2 separate regions of the Homo sapiens genome follow, and region 1 is linked to region 2. Evidence: promoter capture Hi-C in human tissues and cell types (Jung and others, 2019). All regions are on one chromosome and are shown on one strand. The core of a region is centred on a gene start or on the middle of the fragment in contact, and the rest is flanking DNA. Distances in the headings are between cores, read along the strand shown. Region 1 has its middle 71 kb from the start of PRR16. Region 2 holds the start of HSD17B4 (hydroxysteroid 17-beta dehydrogenase 4).

Region 1 (4,147 bases), core at 1,641-4,140, 940 kb after region 2:
CTGGGGATAGGGAAGAAACCCTCCTCATCACTCTAAAATTCTAACCTTATTTGAGCTTCCCAACACACAACTTTCCTGAAAAATCTTCTGTCAAGTGTTGCCAATCACTTATTAAGTATTAAATTTAAAGAATACACTTTGAATGTGTATCTCATTTGAACTCTCTACAGTATTTGACAAGCATGACAATTTCTTCTTTGAAATCCTGGCTTCCATCACACCTCTGTCTTAGGGTACCTGCTACTTTTCCCACTACTTTCTCTCAAGCTCCTTCATGTGCAGCTCCTTCTCTGTCTGCTCCAAAACTCTGTTTTTCTTACTCTGAACACTGTCTTTGATAATCACACTCATTGTCAGGCCTTCAGTTACCAATAGGATGTTAACAAAGCTTACATCTATGTTGTCAGCTTAGGTCTTTCAGCTGAGCTTCATTTGAATCTTACAACCTACACTCAATAGTGCTCTTTGTGTTGATGTCAATTAATGTTTTTATTAAATGTGAGTAAAATTGTTACTCCAGAAAGATATATGGTATATATCTCATGACTTCCCTATACTCTGACACAAAATCTCAAAACCTGTAGGCACATACATCTTTTTAACTAAGCATAGGAAATCTAGCCACAGTCAAGTTATTCACTCCTCAGCATTAGAACACTTCTTTAGCCCGTTGGGCTGCTTTTCTTTTCCATATAGCTATTCTCCATCTCTTTTCTAAGCCTCTGCTAGTCAGTCTCCCCACCTAAGATGCTATTCTTTCTGTACTTATATTCAAATGATCCCCCTTCTTTTGGGCTTGACTCAGTCTTTACACACACAGTGTAGTCTTTCTTAATTATTCTAATGCCCATTTATCTTACCCGTCTAGAACTCAAATAGAATGTATTAGGCAAACAAATTCATTTAGACATTAAGTCAAATACAGTCTCAAACTTATATATAACAACTTCAAGCATATTTTTTTTGATTTTGCAACTACAATACAATTATAGGCTGAATGTTTGCGTCCCTTACATTTTATGTGCTGAAACCCTACTCTCAATGTGATGTATTAGAAGGTAGGGCCTTCAGAAGGTGATTTGGTCATGGGAGTAGAGCCCTCATGAATGGGATTAGTGCCCTTTTAAGCATCCCAAGAGAGCTTGCTTCACTTTGCTCTCTGTCATATAAGGATACAACAAGAAGTCGGTATTCTGTAACCTGAAAGAGGACCCTCACTGGAACCCAACCATGCTAGCACCCTGATCTCAGACCTCCAGTATACTGATTGTGAGAAATATATCTCAGTTGTTTATAAGCTGCCCAGTCTATAGTAATTTGGTGTAGCAGCCTGAACTAACAAGACAAATACCTAAGCTTTTATGGTATGGAATTCTTTATTGGCTAACTTTTAATGCCTAGAACAATGTTATGAACATAGTAATATTTAACAAGTATTTGTTAAATAAATAGTTTTAAAAAGGCACTCATTTTCAAAGTCAGGGTATATCAAATATTGTTGGAATGACAATTGATAATGGCTAAAATGCTGAGGAAATAGGAGATTTATTTTAACTTAAGAGTCTCAGAGCCACTGTTATACTTTTCAGGAACAAGCATTCACCTGTGAGGTAGAATTTGAAAAATATTTTCTTGTCCAAATATATATGCCTTAAAGCTTCTGTTTGTGTGCTTATAGTTATCATATTAGCTATTCCTTGGAGTTAACAAAGCCCAAATAAAAATTTGGAAGAACATTTTGGATTAAATTTCTTTATCAGGTTAGTCAGACTCAAGAGGATGTTGGAATGGACAGAGATGAGGAAAATAAGTCGAGGGAAAAGTTTAGAGCCTGAAGCTATGGGGAAGGCAATGTCAGGGGAAATATTTGGGGCATCAAGGATGTATGATAAAATTGCTGAATATTTGACCACAATCAAAGTGTGGGCTGCCAAAAGCAGTAGGTACAGAAAGCAGCTCATATCTCTACTAGAAGGATGAGCTTTGTGCAAGGTAACTTTTGTAGCTTAAATATTGAGTAGGGGCTTACACTTAGTAAAAATATCTTCAGTTGTAGAATAAAGTTGTCACCTTGAGTGAAATGTTCTATCAAGTATCTAAGTGCCTTGTGTAGTTAGTTACTTCACCAAAACTATATTTCTTTGGGTATTTTAACTTTTGTTTAATTATTGTTTATGTAAAAATGAAAGAAGTTCGATTAAGAAGAGGTCAAAAAATGTAACAAAGTAAAAGGAGAATAGGAATGTGTATATGGTGAGCATTTGTGTGACTGGTGCAACGTAGGTCTGGAAATGCTTATTTTATATATTTTCATAATAAGAGAGTTATAAGTACCCTCATTTCTCCAAAAAGAAACTGAAATTCAGCAAAATTATGTAAATAGTCCTGTGTCACTTGGTTATTAAGAGCAAAACCTGGTATTTGACCTGAGATGTCTATAACACCAATGCTCATGCTATTTTACGAAATTCTAAATGAGCAAAGAAAAAAATACCATGAGGGCTTAGATTATTTTTCATCATGTGAATAGACATTTTTACATGATGTGGGATTCTCGAATACAGCAGGATAGGTTTAGGAGCTGTAAGTAACAGAAATTAAGTTTAGATTTAGTATCTTAGTTTGGATCCCAGAATCACACTTTGAGGCAGGATTTATATGCAAATAATTCATCTGGGATGTGGTCCCATAAACATAAGTAGAGGAGTGGTGAAGCGATAAAGAAAAGGGAAGGAAGCCAATAAAAGTGCATCATCAAACAGATTACTATAGCGGGCAACTATAGCTTAGTCCCACAAGCGTATTACCCCTGAGGGGAGAGAATTGCATCGTATGAACCAAATCTTGGCAGCTAATGATTAAAAGCCACTCCTGTGGAACATTGATTCCCCAGCATTTCCAGCCTGCTTTATGCACAGGTGGAGTGGGCTCCTGCAGCCAGAGCAAGCCCTCAGGCAAAGAGAAGTTGATGATATTTGGAAGTCTGTTGGCAGGTATTAAAAGGCAAGGGGTATGTGGATAAAGAACTCACCTGCTACATTTAAAAAATAAGATGTTAAAACTATGTTAGGCACCTTTGACAAAATATATTCTCTAACAAATTGTGTTGGGATAACTGGATAGCCACATGTAATAAAATAAAATCTGACCCCTATTTATACACAAAAATAAATCCATCAAAATGGTTTAAAAATGTAAATGTAAGAATTGAAACCGTTAAACTCCTAGAAGAAAATGGGAGAAAAGCTTCATGACATTGGATTTGGCAACGATTTCTTGGATATGACACCAAAAGCATAAGAAACAGAAGCAAAAATAGACAAATGAGATGACATCAAATAATAAGCTTCTATATAGTACAGGATGCAATCAAGAGTGAAAAGATAACCTATGGAATGGGAGAAATATTTGCAAACCATATATCTAATAAGGGGTTTATATCAAAAGTGTATAAGGAACTCCTACAACTCAATAGCGAAGAAATGAATAACCTTATTTTAAAATGGGCAAAGGACTTGCATAGACATGTATCCTCCTGAGAAGACATATAAATAGCCTATAGGTATATGAAAAGATGCTCAACATCATTAATAATCAGAACAAAAGCAAATCAAAACAATGAGATATTACTTCATACCTATTAGAATGGCTGTTATTAAAAAGCAAGATAAGTATTGGCAAAAGTGTGAAGAAATTGGAACCTTGTACCCTACTGGTAGGAATGTTAAGTGGTGCAGCTGCTGTAAAAAGCAATAGGAGACATGGTGTTTCCTAACATATTAAAGAAGGAACTACCATATGATCCAGCAATCTCACTTCTGGGTATATATCACAAAGAATTGAAATCAGGATCTTAAAGATACATCTGTAATCCCATGTTCATTGTGGCATTACTCACAATAGCCAAGGTATTGAAATATTTATGTATGTTATCATCAATTTATATATAAATAGATAAGGAAAATGTGCCATATACACAGGACGGAATATTAGTCAGCCTTAAAAAATAAGGAAATCCTGCCATATGCTACAAGAAGGATAAATCTGGAGAACATTACACTAAGTGAAGAAAACTAGTCACAGAAATAAACTAGTCACAGAAATACTGCATAATTCCAACTATATGATGTACCTAAAATAATCTAAC
Region 2 (4,219 bases), core at 677-3,176:
TACAAAGGGAGGAATTTTACAGCTGGGCTGCCGGGGGTGACATCACATATCAGTAGGACCGTGATGCCCACCTGAGCCTCAAACCAGCAAGTTTTTTATTAAGGGTTGCAAAAGGGAAGGGGGTGTAAGAACAGAGAGTAGGTACAAACATCACATGCTTCAAAGGGCAAAAAGCAGAACAAAGATCATATGCTTCTGAGGGAACAGGACAAAGGGCAAAAGCAGAACTACTAATAAGGGTCCAACAAAGATCACAAGACAAAGGGCAAAAGCAGAGCTACTGATAAGGGTCTATGTTCAGCAGTGCATGTATTATCTTGATAAACATCTTAAACAACAGAAACAGGGTTCGAGAGCAGACAACTGGTCTGACCACAAATTTACCAGGGCCGGGTTTTTCCCCACCGTAGTAAGCCTGAGGGTACTGCAGGAGACCAGGGCATATCTCAGTCCTTATCTCAACCACATAAGACAGAGCAGCCGTTTATAGACCTCCCCCCAGGAATGCATTCCTTTACCAGGGTATTAATATTAATATTCCTTGCTAGGAAAAGAATTTAGTGATATCTTCCCTACTTGCACGTCCGTTTATAGGCTCTCTGCAAGAAGAAAAATATGGCTGTTTTTGCCCAACCCCGCAGGCAGTCAGCCCATATGGTTGACTTCCCTTGTTCCCTAAAAATTGCTGTTATTCTGTTCTTTTTCAAGGTGCACTGATTTCATATTGTTCAAACACACATGTTTTACAATCAATTTGTACAGTTAACACAATTATCACAGTGGTCCTGAGGTGACGTACACCTTCAGCTTACGAAGATAACAGGATTAAGAGATTAAAGTAAAGACAGGCATAAGAAATTATAAAAGTATTATTTGGGAACTGATAAATGTCCGTGAAATCTTCACAATTTATGTTCCTCTGCTGCGGCTCTAGCAGGTCCCTCTGTTTGGGGTCCATGACTTCCCGCAACATCCAATCAATCCTCCATAATGGGCAAAGTGATCTTTCCATAGTGTAAATGTGTTCCCACCACTCTCTGGAGTAATCCTACTTAAAACCGTTTTCAGCACAAAATTCAAACATCTAAACATGATCTTGCTGGCTTTGCTTTTGTGGCTTTACCCTCTTTCTCCCCAAACCTAGCTAGTGTTTGTGCTGCCTGTAATGCCCTTCTTTCTTTGCAGGGGTCGCCACTTTAGGTCCTGGTCCTCCTTCAGAAAGTTTTTCCTCTTTCTCCCCAGCGGGGATAGGGTCTGTTTATTTTGACACCATTAGCTCACTTACACACATTGGTCACAAGTCTAGGCTGCACCGTTATTGAAAGTTTACCATCTGACTCTGAGTAGCTTGAGGATCCTATCAAAACTCAGGAGATGCTCAGTAAATGTTGATTGAACTATGACTGTTCTCAACATACAAACGCAAGATCATTTAGGAACACTTGTCAAAATGTTTTTGCCCCTTGAGATTCTATTTTGGGAGGTAAGCAGTGGGGGTCCAGGACTCTGCATTTTGACAGTCCCCTGATGTTTGCATGTAGAAGTGCAGGGATTATTACACTGACAAATCTTTACCATCCCTAAGGGGGACTTTCCTTCCCAGGGGCTATCTCTGGAAGCCCCTCAAGGATAGGGGCCGCATGCTGTTTCTCTAGGTCAGCAACTAAACCCAGAAAACGTTTATTGAGTGAATGATGAAACGACAGGTGAATAGATGAACGCAAGGTGTCGAGTTAACTATTCTTCTACACAAGTCCTAGCAGCTCCCATTGCTTCCAGCCGCAGAAATGGCCCCTGGAAGGCAAGTCTTCCAGCGAGTGGAGTCACTCTTAACTACATTTCCCAGGATTCCAAGGGAGCCGCGCGCTCTGCGCTCATCTTCCTACCAGAAATCGGCAAGTCACTGACCCTCGTCCCGCCCCCGCCATTCCCCGCCTCCTCCTGTCCCGCAGTCGGCGTCCAGCGGCTCTGCTTGTTCGTGTGTGTGTCGTTGCAGGCCTTATTCATGGGCTCACCGCTGAGGTTCGACGGGCGGGTGGTACTGGTCACCGGCGCGGGGGCAGGTGAGCATGCGAAGGTTGGAGGCCGCGCCCCTTGCTGAGGCGCAGCTGGCTGCTCTTTTCGGGCCGGCATACGCGCGCAGCCGCAGCTGAGGTCACCCCGCTGAGGTGGTGGGGAGGGGAATGGTTATTCTTGAGGCACCGCATCTCTTGAGGAGGAAAGAGCCGGAAACACCTGGTCTCTCAAGCAGGTACAGCCCGCTTCTCCCCAGCACCCCGGTGTGGGCTTCCCAAGGTCCTGCCTGAGAGGAGAGGCCAGGCTGGGCTGCTGATTGCAAAACTGGGTGAAAGTTCTCCCTGACCCTTATCTGTGGGCATCGATTGTTACTCTTCCTGCAATTAACTCTCTTAGATCTTTGCCTAGTCTTTTAAAGGACTGAAAAGCCGCGAGGGGCGGGGGCTGGAATTCGCCCCCTGAAGCGCAGAGATGTCAGCTCCTGAAAAGTCATTCGGTCGTTCAGTGTTTGTTTCCCTCTGTCGTAAGATTTTAAGTTCGTGAGAGGACCTTCTTTAAAGAGGGCGTCTGATAAGAGCCCTTCCCCGTTGGAGTTTGTATGCTTAGCAAGTCACAATCTGTTCTCGAAATCCACTGGAGTCTTGGCAGAGGTTGTAAGCTCAAATGCGCACAGGGGTCAGGCGTATGATGGAGAAAGAAAATGGGAGTAGGATGGGCACATCTGAGGAACTGGAGAGCAGAGAATTCCGAAGTGGACCGGCCAGTGGGAAAGTTGCCTGTATTTCAGGAGCGGCAAAATGGAAAATTGTTATGTGAAATAGCCCCATTTTTTAAAGTACAAAAAATTAAAACAAACCATTCATACCAACATAGATGCTGTGCAGTGAGATTTTACATTAGTTTCTCACCAGTGGGTGACCTCTGTAACCTCCAAGTGCAGGGATCTTGACATTATGCACCTTTGATTCTCCACTGGTAGTACCTTATACCTGGAAAGGCCCTAATGCATGAATTATTTGAGTTATATATTAAACGTTACAAACTGGAATTCTGTCAATTAATTCCTATGTACTTTCATATCTGTATTGATAAAGTGGCTTCTTATGCTGCCTTTCAGAAAATGCTTTCAGTGTTGATGAATAGCCAAGTATTTTATACCCATAGCTGTCTGGTTATCTCTGCATGGGCATGTATTTGGGTGTAGTCATACCTTCTAAATGTTTTTAGGAAAACATTTTGTTTACACTTTGCTTTTATTGTAAATAATGTATTTTACAACGCTTGGTGTTTTAAATCTTTTTTGACAGCTCTTGGATAATTTTCATGCAGGAGGTCCAGGGATTACATTCTAAGACGTTTTTGCCATCGCTAAGGAGACTTTCCTTTTCAGGGGCTATATCTGAAAATCATTCAAGGATAGGGACTGCTTCTTTTGACACCATTAGCATACTTACACATGGTATGCAGTACATTTTACACCAGTACTCAGTACACTTACACAAGCACATACATCTGTATTTAAAACCAGTTCATGATATAGTGTGTAGTACAGGCAATGCATCCTGAAATTTATTTTCTATTCTGTTTTATTTATAAATTGTAATTGTAACCCACAAAATTGATTTTGTGAAACAATGAGTTGTGACTAGACAGTTATGAACTTAGCACCTGCTGTTCATAAACTGGTTAAATTCTCTCTTACCCATTCAGAGTTGATTAAATTTTTTTTTTTTTTCAGAGCTAAAGGTTTTACTCTGTACCCAGGCTGGAGTGCAGTGACCCGATCATGGCTCACTGTAACCTTGAACTCCTGGGCTCAAGTGATCCTTTTGCATCAGCTTCCAGACTAGCTAGGACTGTAGGCATGTGCCACCACGCCCAGCTAATTTTTAAATGTTTTCAAGAGATGGAGTCTCGCTTTGTTGCCCAGGCTGGTCTCAAACTCCTGGCCTCAAGTGATCCTTCTGCTTGGATTAAATTCTAAAATAAGTTATTTGGTGAAATTTCCTAGTTTTGGAAAACTGTATATTTTTGGTTCTTTTTGTTTTTGTTTGAGAGGGAGTTTTGCTCTGTTGCCGAGGCTGGAGTGCAGTGACATGATCTTGGCTGACTGCAACCTCTGCCTTCCGGGTTCAAACAATTCTCCTACCTCAGCCTCCCAAGTAGCTGGGGGTACAGGTGCACACCACCAAGCCCAGCTGAT

Evidence for each region. Contacts are between HindIII fragments. The study calls those that stand out against the background at their distance.
Region 1: a contact is called between a fragment that was not itself captured here and the fragment with the promoter of HSD17B4 in region 2, in 1 of the 25 tissues and cell types used here (dorsolateral prefrontal cortex).

Annotation. Positions count from the first base shown.
Region 1 is chr5:120,390,760-120,394,906 of GRCh38, forward strand. No RefSeq gene overlaps it. Among named protein-coding and RNA genes, the nearest start is that of PRR16, 71 kb to the right of the region's middle. The HindIII fragment of the contact is 4,037 bases long and covers 873-4,147 here.
Region 2 is chr5:119,450,571-119,454,789 of GRCh38, forward strand. HSD17B4 (hydroxysteroid 17-beta dehydrogenase 4) reads left to right here and starts at 1,927. Exons shown (of 24, transcript NM_000414.4): 1 at 1,927-2,063. The coding sequence starts at 2,006. RefSeq lists an enhancer at 2,028-2,077. The HindIII fragment of the contact is 10,263 bases long and covers 1-4,219 here.